2 separate regions of the Homo sapiens genome follow, and region 2 is linked to region 1. Evidence: promoter capture Hi-C in 16 types of primary human blood cells and fetal thymus (Javierre and others, 2016). All regions are on one chromosome and are shown on one strand. The core of a region is centred on a gene start or on the middle of the fragment in contact, and the rest is flanking DNA. Distances in the headings are between cores, read along the strand shown.

The links. The method cuts DNA at HindIII sites, captures the fragments that hold promoters and counts their contacts. A CHiCAGO score of 5 or more calls a contact.
Region 2: a contact is called between a fragment that was not itself captured here and the fragment with the promoter of BAZ2B in region 1, in 1 of 17 cell types (erythroblasts). The highest score is 5.4, in erythroblasts.

Annotation. Positions count from the first base shown.
Region 1 is chr2:159,615,020-159,622,546 of GRCh38, forward strand. It overlaps BAZ2B (bromodomain adjacent to zinc finger domain 2B), which reads right to left and starts at 1,529. Exons shown (of 37, transcript NM_013450.4): 1 at 1,223-1,529. BAZ2B-AS1 (BAZ2B antisense RNA 1) reads left to right here and starts at 275. Exons shown (of 2, transcript NR_110588.1): 1 at 275-434; 2 at 731-3,023. RefSeq lists enhancers at 1-8, 1,065-1,591, 1,219-1,298, 1,549-1,618. The HindIII fragment of the contact is 3,593 bases long and covers 1-2,765 here.
Region 2 is chr2:157,253,353-157,260,809 of GRCh38, forward strand. It overlaps GALNT5 (polypeptide N-acetylgalactosaminyltransferase 5), which reads left to right and starts at 4,353. Exons shown (of 10, transcript NM_014568.3): 1 at 4,353-6,184. The coding sequence starts at 4,731. The HindIII fragment of the contact is 2,663 bases long and covers 4,720-7,382 here.

The sequences.
Region 1 (7,527 bases), core at 279-2,778:
GAGGGCAGGAAAAAAAATGGAGGATATTGTAATATACACAAAGGGATAAATTTCAACAACTCGGCCAAGGACTGCAGCTGCTTCCCTCTTTATAAGGAAGCAACAGACAAAAGATAAATACAGAGGGAGAAAGAAAAGAAGAGAAAATCTCCCAAACAACAGAGCCAGCTCTGACTCTTCAAACACTTCCTTCCCCTTCTCAAATCCCAATTCTGGGGTTCGTGAAACTACTTAAAGGGGAGGGAGCCGCGAAAGAGAACGGGGGCTGGGGGGAGGGGTAGCGACAAGAAGATTAAAAGAGGGAAGCAGAGGAGTTGGGAGCTGGCGGTCGTTCCCGGGGAAGAACTGCTAAAACATGAGACCAAGGCACAGACCTTACTGTATGAGAAGCAATGCTCCTCAAACCTTCTGCGTGCTGACATAGACCTTCCCAGGTATCCAGATCTTTTCCCAATCCCACCTGCCCCACCCCCACCCCCGCTCATCTTCAGTAAACTCAGAGCCTCCAGCTACACACGGGAGAGCTAGAGGCCCAAGCCGGGGAGTGGGGGTGGCAGACGCAGCTCGTCAGTCCGACAGGGAAGAGGGGGCGGAGGCAAAAAAGGGCAGCAGGAGGCGGACGGGGGTGGGGGGTGATCCAGAAACTACCCCGGCAGGGAGTGGGGGAGCAGCGGATATTCCGGGGTAGGAACGGCCATCGCAACGCTGACAGAGGTTGTTTTTTAAGAAGCAAAACTGTTGGCGGCGACCTGAGCGCTGGAAGCCGAAGGGGAAGAGGAAGGAGACGCGAAGCCAGGGCGGCCGGCACAAAGGCGGCGGACTCGCGGCGGCAGCGCCTGCCCGGCCGGGAGCACAACCCACGGCCCTACTCCAGCGAAGTCCCGCACCGGCTTCTAGGAATAAAGTTTACGTTCTCCTGAGGCCGCACCCCCCACCTCCCACCCAGGACGGCACATCTCCGTGTCCTCCTCCCCCAAACTCCACTCGGGACCCCGAGAACCACCCCAGCCTTCCGGCCACCACAACAAAGAGCCGCACCGACCGGCGAGGATAAACAGCGGCGGAGGGCGAGAGGGCGGCGGGGCGAGCGCCTCCACGCAGCAACTCCGGAGTCCCCCGCTTGCCCGAGCGCAGTTTCTCCGCTGCTGTTTCCACCGGCTTTGTAACACTGGGAATTTACATCCTCACCCGCACCCCTCACGCCCGAGGATTTTAAACTCACCTTTACTCTCGAACTGAGAGTTGCGGTAGATGGGATTTTTGCCTTTTCCCCAGATGGTTGAAGGTTAAGATTTTTGGAAACCCCACCACCTCCTTATTTCTATTATTATTTCTGCAAGAAAAGTATAAAGAGAGTTGTAGTGGAGGTGAGATTTGTGATCGGGAAAGCCTTCGACTCCCTCCTTCTCCGTCTTCCGCCTCTCTCTCTCTGATTAGTTCCTATCCAGCAGCAGATTGAAGCAGGAGATGATTCTTCTCAAGGTTTGTTCAGCAGCTTCACTTCTAGGCGAAGGCTTCATGAACCAAGTGACGTCAACCAACAAGGCTTCTCTCTCTCTCCTCTCTCTAACAATGAAAGTTGCTGTTAACAAGGGAAAAAAAGAGAGAGAATTGTTTATACCATTTCAGTTCCAATAATAAATGACCTATCAGCTCCTAAAGGAGCCAAGGGAGGGGGTTGCTTCTTCTTTCCAAGAATACTGTAGCTTTGAGTTTGCACCGTTCCTTGTCCCAGGAAAAAGTTAAGAAACTTAAAATGTTTTGTTTTGCTTTTAAAGAAGACAGGACAGAAAACGGGATTTAAAACTTAGTTTTTAAAAAAACAAAAGCTACAGAGTAGGGAGCATAGGTCAACCATCTCCACCTAAATTTTTTTTGTTCCTAAACTCAGAATTCTACAACCCAACTAAATTAATATGCCAAGATTTTGCGGATGTTAAAACTCAAAAAAAGCAGTATGCAAGACGGTCCCGGGGTAAAATTCTACTGCCTTTCCACGGACAAGTTAAACTGGCTGTAATGTTTATGCACTAAGTTAAAATAAAATTTAAATAAAAGACGTTAAAATAGTCGTTTTAAAGTTATATGCACACACTGTAAAAGGTAATCTCGATAGCTTTTTTTCAAGTTTCTGAGAGATTAGAAAAAAAGCATAGCAAATTGTAGGCACTGAACACTTTTTAAAAATCAAGTTATGAGTAAGACTGGTAGCCCTTTGCTCCTTTAAACTACAAATGCAGTCATATGCTATGGTCTACCCCCAGAATCTCTTCCAACTTTGTTTTTACCCTTCCACTCCCCCAACCCCAATTCCCAAATCCTGCAACCAATCAAGTTAAACTAAAGATACAATAGGCCCCATTCCCTCCCGCACCCCATCCTATAGATTCCTAAAAACAATTTTTTTAAAAGCCTTAATCTTGATAACACTTTATTAGCCAAGAAGATACGTATTTTTTTTTTTAGAAGTTCGTTGAGGTACCGTTTTTTCCCTCCAGAACACAAGAAAGTCTCAAAGTTCATATAATTAAAAATTGCATAATTTAATTTTCAGGATGAAGAGTAAGTAAAAATTAAGCTATCGGAGAATAATTTGATCATCTATGTATATTTTATACATATGTGGATAAATGTATCTTAAAAGATGCTATTGTTTTATGTTTCCTCTTCAGCCACTGGCTGTGATTTTAATTGTGCTGGAGGATCTTCATTAGTATTAACACATGGGGAGATTTCACAAAGCTGCTTCATTAGGAAAAAAAAAAAGCTTGGCAGACTCGGTCTTTTTGCATGCACTGAGAATGTCAGCCTTACCTCGGTCATTTGTAACATAATAAGTGCAAGTACAATGATTGCAATGCAGGAGCACTGGGGGAAGGGCAGAAATACTGCCTGTCTAATAGGGATATCTGAAAAGAAGGCTGCTCATTACAGAGTAAAATGTATGCTAAAAATTAGTGAAGATGATGTCTCAGGAGACTGATGCTAAATAAATTAATGTGCTGATATGTTTTTAATTATTATTTTTGTAGTAGTTTATTTCATTCTCAGGATTCACATTGAGCAGCAAAGCTGTGCTAGCACTTATTGATTTTTTTTCCCTGCCACATTCCCGGAATACAGATTTTAATCATTTCACTACACCACACTCAGTAATTTCATTAAAAACTGGAATCTTCCATCCCCAGAAAAGCATTTAATTTCAATGACATACAATTTCTCTTTTAGCAGCAAACTGTCTCTACAGTAAAAACTGGCCTAAGGTTCAAATGCATAATTTAATCCTGAGTTTTCCATGCTCTGCATTCCTTTCAAGCTATAATTTGAGTAACTACCTAATAACTGTAATAAGGACAATAATTTCCTTATAATATATTATTAACTCATATTTAATTAACTCGGAGGCCAAGCTCTGTACATGTATGACTGGGTCAACAGTTCTATAATCTCAAAATTTACTAATAATGTTCCAGAAGAAAAATATAGATTAAAATATAAGTATGAATGCACTTAGTATCTAAGACTTCTATCCCAAGTCACATACAAAAAAGTTAATGCATTGTTCTATAATGGTGGTCATTAAATAAATAATATTTTTAAGTATGTGGAACTAAAAAATGGAATACACTGATATTTCTATGCGTAAAGTATTGAATATTAATGTTTTAACAATCTATTACTGACACTTTACCTAATCATTAGCATTACTGTTGAAAATATTTAATTTTGAAAAGATAAGGAAAAAGTGCTAGATTCAAGTTATCTTGATTTTCATAAAGAATTCTCCCAAAATATACCTCGCTTGAAATAAAGTTAAGTGGCACACTGTAACTCGAATAATTAAGAATACATCCTTTGCTTAAATACTTCAAACAATATACTGCAAAGCATGGTTCAATTTTTGGTTCCAATAATATTTTGAAATATTGGGATTGCAGATGCCACACTGGTTTCCCAAACAATGGTTTCATAATGATATGTAATTTACATTGCCTGGATTTTAGAAAAGAAACCTGTGAAAAAAAATAATTTAAAGTAATAAAATTCATTAATTTAAATTGTGGAAATATGTCTAATCTACAGAAAAAACAATATATGTAATGAAAGTGATTAACTACTATATAAAAACTCCAGTCATTCCCCTGAGTAATTTTAGAATCATAATTCAAAAATTTTTATAAGAATATGTATATGCAATTTCAAGCTGGAGCCATATACAACCCAAAGTTGTCTTTTACTTGATTGCACAAGGAAGTAACTTATAACAAAATACATCTTATCATCATCAAAAGGTTGGAAAAAAGGGGAAAAGGGGTGACAGTGAAAACCTTGATTTTAATGTCTTCTAAAGACATTTTAAAATATATTTTTATTATGAAGGGCTCGTTATATACTTCAGGAAATATGTGACATTCCCAATGGTGAAGTTATATGGAAATCAATAATTAACAAAATAGTTGCTAAATGAAAGACTGACATAGGTATCTCAAATTCATAAATATATTTCTCTATTTCAATAAAAATAATAAAAACTTTAATTTTATATTAAAATATATATTTAAAATTATTTAATGTTATTTGGTAATTCAGATATACAAATTAAAATTATTCAATTTAATCTGTATTTTTAAACTGATTCTTCTTAAAAAAAAATGATTTCCTAGAAATTTTAAACTGGATTACTCCAAGTATTTGATACCTTCTTACTAAGAAATTGTGCTTAAATTATTTTTAAAATATGATTCCTTCCCTTTTTCATGTTATCATACTTTATCATTTCAGAGATTATAACATAATCATACAGTTGAGGGGGAAAACTTCAGATAAAATAGTTGCTATAGTTATAAAATAATTTAACTCCCAACAGGACTTCGTCTTCTACCCAAGATCATCATCTGTATTAGTGCTTCATCATGTACATAATTGTGATAGAATTTAATGATCAAGCAGATCTTTTCCAATTTTAGTGAATAATTAACTCTGAAATTCTATACCTATTTACCTATCCCACAGACTATGCCACCAATATGGACTAAATTGTTGCACTTTCTTCTGTAAAGCAGCATCTGTTTTTACGACAAAGACAGAACTTCTTAAATAGGTAGATATAGAGTTGGATGGCTATCTAACTTACTACTATGGGTATTGTAGATGGTTCCTCAAAGAGTAAGAAATTGCTATGTACAGAGAATGAAGTCTAGGAAGGCTGACTACAAAGAAAAACAAACGAGAGATCTCAACAGTATAACAAGCTGGCCACTGTTATATCTTGTTTCTGTTTCAATCATTACAGCCTAATGAAGCTTTATTTGTTTTCATTCATTGAACAAACATTTGAGTGCTTGCTATATGCTACGCGCTATGCTAGAGGCTGGAAAAACATGAAAAGCTCACATTCTGGTTGATGTACAAAGTGTGAAATGCCTGGGAGATTAGAGACTCATATAAATCACATTATAAAGATACAAATAATAAAGTTTTGTGAGAATAAAGAGGATGAGGCAACTAATTCTCACTGAGAGACTAGAAAAGGCTTTATCAAAGAGATGTTATTTGAACTGCATCTCAAATACTGAGAGCTTACCAGGCAAAGAAGTTCGGGGTGGGAGGTGGTCTTCTAAGTGAAAGAAACAACAAGTGTAAATATGCAGAGATACTAGATCTGGTGTCCATCCACTAGTGAGAAATTCTGTATGCGGGAATATTCAGTATGGGGAAGGACAGAGATAAAGGAATGATAGGGATGTCATGACCAAGATGAAGGCTGGGACCTGACAGTAAAAGGCCTAAGTACCATGGTAAGGTGGTTGAATTTATCACAAGAGCCAACAAAGGCTAGCAAAGGAGTGGCATGATTGACCTTGTTTTGAGGGAACAGTAACTGTATAGGCAGTGCAAATGATAGACTGTAGTATTAAGAGATTGCTTAACAGTCCGTAAGAATGATGGTAGAGACAGTGGCATTGGAGATTTACAGCCAGATATTTCTGAGGTAAAATTTCAGTTTGGTGACTAACTGAAAATAGAATTAAGGAAGAGGAAGGAGTGAAAGAGGACTAGAGAAATTTCTGGCTTACAGTAGTTGCTGCAGTCATTAACTATGGGCCAGAATACATAAGGGAAAACAAATCATAAAGTAGTCTGGAATTAAAACCTGGCTATGACGCTTTATAGGCCTCTTTTAAAAATGGGATTATCAGAATCAACTGTAGAGATTGTTTTAAATATCTAGAATTGTCCCCAGTGTCCAGAATTCACTATGTGAATTCAAATGTCCCCAACGTCCAGAATTCACCATGTCTGGGTGGGGGGTCAAGTATTTCTTTTCTTCTTCAACTCTAAAGACGCTTCTGATAAACATCCCTGATTAAGAACACGGCTGTAAGCACAAATTTGTTAAAAAATTCAGTTGGAAAAAGAAATAAGAAAAACACAGGAAATCTTGAAAAAGAGAGCTTTGCCAGGGGTGGAGGGGACAATCATAACAGATACTAAAGCATTATAAAACCTTTAAAGCTTAATAGTTGGCACTGGCACATGAATAAAAAACCAATAAAACATAATAGGAAAATGAGAAATTGACCCAAGTACATATGGAAATTTAGTATAGATAAAAGCTGTATCTCAAAGCAGTGAGGAAGAGATGGACTTTTTGATAATTGGTGTTCAAGGCCACACATGGTAGTTCATGCCTGTAATCCCAGCACTTTGGGAGGCCAAGGCGGGAGGACTGTTTGAGCTTGGGACCAGCCTGGGCAACATAGCTAGATCCTGTCTCTACAAAAAAAATTAAAATTAGCTAGGTGCCGGGTATGGTAGCTCACGCCTGTAATCCCAGCACTTTGGGAGGCCGAGGCAGGTGGATCACCTGAGATCAAGAGTTCGAGACCAGCCTGACAACATGGAGAAACCCCCATCTCTACCAAAAATTACAAAATTAGCCAAGCGTGGTGGCACATGCCTGTAATCCCAGCTACATGGGAGGCTGAGGCAGGAGAATTGCTTGAAACCGGGAGGCGGAGGTTGCGGTGACCCGAGATCATGCCATTGCACTCCAGCCTGGGCAACAAGAGCGAAACTCCATCTCAAAAAAAAAAAAACTAGCTAGGCATGGTGGTGCATGCATGTAGTCCTAGCTACCAGGGAGGCCAAGGCAGAAGGATCGCTTGAGTCCAAGAGGTCAAGGCTGAAGTCATGATTGTGTCACTGCACTCCAGCCTGGGCAACAGAGTGAGTACTGTCTCAAAAAAAAAAAAAAAAAAAAGGCAAAAACCAAAGTGGTATTCAAATAACTGGGTATTCGTAAGAAAAAGGATAAACTTGGATCTGCTCCAAAAATAAAACTGAAAAAGATCAGATATTTAAACATGAAGATTTGAACCTATACAAGTACTAAAAAAAATTATGGGAGGATTCCCCAATAATTAGAGCCTAAAGAAAACTTTCCCAGCAATGGTCAAAACCAGATACAATAAAGGGAAATACTGGTAAATCTTACTACATAAAATAGCTTTTCTATAGCCAAAA
Region 2 (7,457 bases), core at 4,801-7,300, 2.4 Mb before region 1:
ATGAGGATGATTCAAAGACATTTGCCATGAGAATATAACACAAATATACTTTTCACTCTAACTTTATGCAGATCTGTTTTGCTGAACAGTTTTTGATCTAGTCTGAGAAAATTAAATGTTGAGGATTAAATGAGATACCGTGAAGTGACTAGTGGTAGGCCCTCAGTAAATTCCCAATGAAAGGTTGCTATTAATATGATTATCCTGACAACAACCAAATAGAGTAGAGGGCAAGTCCTCCTACTATTATGCTCGTTTTACAGAAGAAGAAACTAAAATCTGTTTTTAAATGTTTAGTACAAGCTGGAGTCAGACTGATAATTGGAATAACCCCTCCAAATGTCTCCCAAGGATAATTCGTAACTCCAGATTTTCAGATGGATATCATCTCCAACTAAGTATGTACAGATTCTTGAGAAATTTGACCAGCCAAAGGTACCTGCATTCTACGACTTGGGATGACAAGCCAGGCTCCCTAACTGTGGGGTACCTCAAATAACCAACCCACTTACGTATTTAGTTTCCTGCTGGTAACATGGAAATTAATACAACTAAAATTTTAGAAGCACCGTCATTTACCAATATACAAATGTCATGTGTTGGGCAATATGTGTGTTGATGAAAAGGTAGAATTTCCTAATATCCTTTTTTTTCTATTCCTTTTACCTATGCAATTCATTGATCTGAGATGTGAAACAGCATGTGTGTCGGAAAAGAGAAAAAAAAGGAGAAAGATGTACAGCTATGAGGGCCACAGAAATTATTACTGAGTGCCTGAAGACACATAGTGTTGAATTAGTGGTATGGCTTATAACCAACTTCTACCATCATCACAGATTATCATAAACTCACAAGGGAAAAGACCAAGAAGAGGCTGGGAAGAGAACCTTACACAAGCTTTTCCATGTGTGACACATCCATAGTCATATGGCTATTAGTGGCCAAGTCAGTACTTTAGACCAGGTCTGACAACAAATCTACTCCTCCATTTCTAGGATATTTAATCAATGTTTCCTTACTCTCCTACCCACTCTTCACATTTCATTCTGAATTGTATGTCAAATAGACCGAAGACTAAGCCAGAGTTAATGTGTTGCTTTACCCATGATAGATAAGCCAAGATTCCCTTTTAATTTTCTTAACATGTTGCTCTCCTGTTGCAAGTAATTTGTGTTTTGATTCGCAAGGACAAACCAGAGAGGGATAAAAAGAAATCAGTACTCTTTGATAAAATTTATATGGAAACAAGAATATATTTCAAGCAGTGTTTTAAACTGCCAAGCATAGAATATAACAAGTGTTGACTTTCCTAAAAGACATTTGAGTAATTCCAACTGCCATTTGGGGTGGGATGGTGGCTGGACAAGATTGAATCATGCAGAGTAAAATAATTTTAAAGTATTCTATTTTCATGTTTAAAACAATATTGTAATGCAAACCATTTATCCATGATGCTAAAAAAAATTCTCACTTTATTTTCGAATGTGGATGCTAAAGATGTGTGCTATGTTTTTTGCTGGTGGCGTTCTTTTTTTATTATTATTATTATTATACTGGTGGCGTTCTACTGAGGGGAGTTTTAAGGTTGTTAGGGGCAGAGACAATGTCACCTACTTCATGTTTTGGGCATGTAGGGAGTTCTCAGTGAACAATGGTCTTGTTAAATCTATAATTAGAGGAAATAAGAATGGCAAGAATAAAATAAAATACTCAGATTTGTTTCTTCCCCATTGCCAGAATCATGTTAGTCACTAGTTTTCTACTTGTTTTTTTGGGAAGAGCTGGTACATTGCCTCCCACATGCATCCGACACTCCTATTACAGCAAAGTATTAGCAACAATATGAATGGCTAACATTTAAAGAGTACCTTCAATATAACAATAACTTTAACCATTTTTAAATATTCTCACATTAATCTGCAAAGCAGAATTTTTTTTTATTGCTCAGTAACCACATAAAATTAACTAGCCTGCAAGATCATACAGCTAGAGAGCAGTATTGTGTGATATTGAAGCACACGGACTACAGTCGTGTATTCAAGACCCAACCCCTCCAATCTCTACCAGAAGTTGCTTTACCTCTCTAAGGTTTCATTTGCTGACTACAAAATACATATTGTAATTTACTCCTTCACATTAGATTCTTGTGAGGATTGAGTGAGATAGTCAATGGAAAGAACTTAGCAAAGTGCTTGAGATATATATATGAATTTGGAATCTCTCCTTCCCCTCCCAAGTCATTGGGAACATAAGTTTACCTCAAAGCATGGAAGCTAGACCCTCCCCACACTAGAGTAATGAACAGCAGTGTTGTCCACAAATCACTCAGAGTTCCTCAGAGAGAAGGACAGTGGTCCCGAGAAGTGCTTCTCAAACTCTATGGACAATCTTTACAACTGGCAATGTCAAAATGTGTATTCTGATTTAGTTGTTATGGGAATGCATAGATTTTATTAGACTGTACTTTAGACAGGGAAGGAATGTCACACAAGTTGTAGACTGTATTGGCCAGGATTTTTCAGAGAAACAGAACCAATAGGATTCATAGAGGTAGATAAGTGAGTTGCAGTTTATTACAGGAATTGGCTCATGTGGTTATGGAGACTGAGAAACCTCAGTCCAGGCCACCTGCAAGCTGGAGAACCAGGAAAGCCAGTAACATGGCACATTCTGAGTCCAAAGGCCTGAGAACCAGGGAAGCCAATAACATCACTCTCAGTCTGAGGTCAAAAGCCTGAGAACCTAGTGAGGGATGTGGAGGTTGTGGGGGCAGACTGGTACAAGCCCCAGAGGCCAAAGCCAGAGAATCTAAAGTTCTAGTCCAAAGGCAGAAGAAGAAAGATGTCCCAGCTCACTAACAGAGACAGAATCCACCTTTCCTCTGCCTTTTTTTCTATCTGGGCCCTCAACCAATTAGTGGTGCCTGCCCACATTGGGTGAGGGCATCTCCTCCCCACTCAGTGCACTGAGTCAAATGCCAATCTCTTCTGGAAACACCCTCACAGATATACCTAAAAATAATGCTTTACTGGTTCTCTGGGTGTTCCTTAGCCCAGTCAAGTAGACACCTAAAATTAAATGTCTCATAGGCAATGTTCAAAAACCAAAAACAAACAAACAAAAAATTGAGACTTTTTTTCTAGACCAGTGTTTCTCAACTTTAGCTGCACATTTGAAAGACCTGGGAAGCTTTGTAAAAAAAAAAAAAAAAAAAAAAATATATATATATATATATATATATATATATATATATATATATATTTAATACAATATCAGCCCAAATGTCATCTCCACCTCCTCTCTCATCAATTGACCAGAGTTTTGGGGATCTTGTTTCAAGTGGTTCTAATGAAAAGCCTGTGGCGGAACTGCTACCCTACCAGTCAACCAGCATCACTCAAAATCTGGTCCAAGTCCTGGTGTGGTCCTGAAACTGTTGCTTGCTGGTTTAAGACGAGATAAGTACTGAAACTGAGAGTAAGTGTATCTTAATCTGTTCAGGCTACTATAGAAGAATAACATAGACTAAGTGACTCATAAACAACAGAAACTTATTTCTCACAGTTCTAGAGACTGAGAAGTCAGAAATCAAGGCACCAGCAGATTCGTTGACTGGTGAAGGCCCATTTCCTGGTTCATAGATGGCACCTTCTCATTATGTCTTCACTTTGTGGAATGGCAAGGCAATAGGGCCTCTTTTTTAAGGGTGCTGATCCCATTCATGAGGGCTCTATCCTTATAATGAAATCACCTTCAAAAGCCCTACCTCCTAATACTATCACATTTATGATTAGGTTTCAACATATGAATTTTGGGTGGACATAAACATTCAGACCATAACAAAGTGTTTAGAAACTTTTATAGCAGTATGACAAATTAAGTTTATTTGTAATCAAATGTAATAATAAAAACAGATGGATTAGTGAAAAAAAAATAGTTGGCTTACAAAGAAATACATTGAAACCCCTTGAATGAATGATCTAAATAATTAAACATATACATCTCTGGAAGTGAGGATATACCAGGCCCCTTCTTTAAGCTGTTATGTCTTAAAGCTGAAATGTTAACTTCAGTGATAAATTCCTCAGGCAGAGCATTGGCACCTGGCTACAACAGGGTTAATGAGCAGGAGTAGGGTAGGTGGGGTCACAAACCAGGAACACATGCCCTCCAAGTTAGATAGCTTTTTTTCCTCTTTAATTGCCGTTTAAACACACATGCTCTCACATAACACAGAAGGTGAGAGCTGAATGAAGTTTTCTGGGTAATGGCATGAAATGTTTTCCTTATGAGAAGTGGTGTTGAGTTACAGCGTGCAGACGGAGAACGGGGAGGAGAGAAACGGCAGTCTCAATCTGGCCCCCACCTTTTCTTGGGCTTGTAGGAAGGTGGACATGGGCTCCCGGAGACAAGACAAGTGATATGTTGAACTGTTCGGTGGCTGGAATCAACTGCTCCTGGAGTGACCTAAGGCCAGTGTTTATCAGAACTTAGCCAGGGCCAGCCAAGCAGGCACAGATGCTCTGCTATGAAATGCCACGCAGGCAGAGACTGACAAGCGGTAGGAACTGAGCTTTCCCCTTGGACTGCTGCTTCCTGCTGTGTTCAGGGGAGGGGGTCACTTTCTGGCAACTCTGCTGCTGCTGCTGCTGCTGCTGCTACTTCAGCTTCCTCTCCACTCAAGGTAAGCAGGCTAAGGGAGGGCAGGCTGCTAGGGAAAGCTTTGTACCATGAACAGGATCCGAAAGTTTTTCCGAGGAAGTGGGCGAGTCTTGGCATTTATCTTTGTAGCTTCTGTCATCTGGCTCCTCTTTGACATGGCAGCTCTCCGCCTCTCATTCAGTGAGATCAACACTCGGGTCATCAAGGAAGACATTGTGAGGAGGGAGCGGATAGGATTCAGAGTTCAGCCAGACCAAGGAAAAATTTTTTACAGCAGCATAAAAGAGATGAAACCTCCCCTAAGGGGACATGGGAAAGGGGCATGGGGCAAAGAGAATGTTAGAAAAACTGAGGAGAGTGTGCTCAAGGTTGAGGTGGACTTGGACCAAACCCAGAGGGAAAGAAAAATGCAGAATGCCCTGGGAAGGGGCAAGGTTGTGCCGTTGTGGCATCCTGCACATCTGCAGACCCTCCCTGTGACTCCTAACAAGCAGAAGACAGACGGGAGAGGCACCAAACCTGAAGCCTCCTCTCACCAGGGGACACCAAAGCAAACGACAGCTCAGGGGGCTCCAAAGACCTCATTCATAGCAGCAAAAGGAACTCAGGTAGTCAAAATATCAGTACACATGGGACGTGTCAGTTTAAAACAGGAGCCCCGGAAGAGTCATAGTCCCAGCAGTGACACATCAAAACTAGCAGCTGAAAGGGACTTGAATGTGACCATCAGTCTTAGTACTGATAGACCAAAGCAGCGATCACAGGCAGTAGCAAACGAGAGGGCACACCCTGCCAGCACAGCAGTGCCGAAGTCTGGGGAAGCCATGGCCTTAAACAAAACTAAGACTCAGAGCAAAGAAGTCAATGCAAATAAACACAAAGCCAATACGAGTCTTCCTTTTCCTAAGTTCACTGTCAATTCAAATCGCTTAAGGAAGCAATCTATTAATGAGACACCTTTGGGAAGTTTGTCAAAGGATGATGGAGCTAGAGGGGCTCATGGGAAGAAACTCAATTTCTCTGAAAGCCATCTTGTGATTATAACCAAAGAGGAAGAGCAAAAGGCAGACCCCAAAGAGGTCTCTAATTCTAAAACCAAAACAATATTTCCTAAAGTATTGGGTAAAAGCCAAAGTAAACACATTTCCAGGAATAGAAGTGAGATGTCTTCCTCTTCACTTGCTCCACATAGAGTGCCACTGTCCCAAACTAACCATGCTTTAACTGGAGGGCTAGAGCCAGCAAAAATCAACATAACTGCCAAAGCCCCCTCTACAGAATACAACCAGAGTCATATAAAAGCCCTTTTACCTGAAGACAGTGGAACGCACCAGGTGTTAAGAATTGATGTGACACTTTCTCCAAGGGACCCCAAAGCTCCAGGGCAGTTTGGGCGTCCTGTAGTTGTCCCCCATGGAAAGGAGAAGGAGGCAGAAAGAAGATGGAAAGAAGGAAACTTCAATGTCTACCTTAGCGATTTGATCCCAGTGGATAGAGCCATTGAAGACACCAGACCTGCTGGGTAAGACCTATTTCTCTTCTCTTTCCTCAACCCCAAGTGCTTTGGCTGTTATGTAAAGAGGATTTATTGCTAGATAATTCTGTGTGATTTTTGGTCACCTAGAGAATTAAAGAAACATTAATCATTGGATATCATTCAAATATTTCACCAGCTACAGAGACAAAAATTCTCTTATTAGCAGTTGCAGAGTTCTTGTTCTCTGAGACTTTGGTCCCTACCATTAGCTCATGTTCAATTTTCTTCCCTCTGTTGAAAACCTATTAAAATGATTAGATGAACTCAGTTCATAATAACGTGTATATAAATGGTAGAGCTTAAAGTGTAATTCCATTAGAATAGTGACAATGAAGTGAATTCCCAATTTTGGAACTTTTCATTATTAGCAAGTTTGTCAGGAATATATTTGGGAAAGAAGCACACAGAAGGACTCTTCTAGGCCTCCCTGGAATCATATCTTAACCAGCAGAATTCTGCCTAATCATAAGTAATGATAAGCAGGATAGCAAGAGAAGTGACTTTACTCCCTAAAATTTAATCTCCTTTATAGGTGGAGATGGTAGATATTTCAGGAGATCAGTTACATAGGAATCATAATGTTGGAAAAAGTCAATCAGTCCATGACCAGCAAACACCTACAGGAGGTATAAAAAGCATAATAATAATCACTTATATTTGTAGACATTCACTATTTACAAAGAGCCTGCATACACATAGATGAACTCCATATGAGCCCTGCAAAGGAGGAGGCAGTCATTATGGTTCAAATTAACAAGCTGGCGAGGGCGCTCAGAAGTTACAACACTTTCTCAAGGTAATGCAGTTCTAAAGCTGCCCAATGGGCCTTCAGTAACCAGTCCTTCAAAAAGTTAAATTCCTATAACTATATCACCAGATGTGGATCAAAACATAGATATTTAATCTGATTCAAATATAATTGGGTTCCTGGCATTTTTTTTCTTGGCCCACTGATAAGTGAAGGTACTCAACAGCCGTATGTTCAATATCTGTTAACTCAGTTCCCTAAGTCAAACAATATTTGCCAGGAAGTTGGATTGGGGAATGTCAAGATTGAGACTTAGCACATGTGGCATGTAAACAATGGCCTTGTTTGGCTTCTGTAGAAAATTCTTCTTTGTGATCTAGGTAGTCAGCATTACATTTTAGTCAGTGTTACTAGGAGGAAGGCAGATACAGGAGAAGCTTTATCCACATTAGAAAGAAGAGTCTCTTCATTGTGATGTCGGCTACAACCAGGTCGTTTTCCATCTCTTAG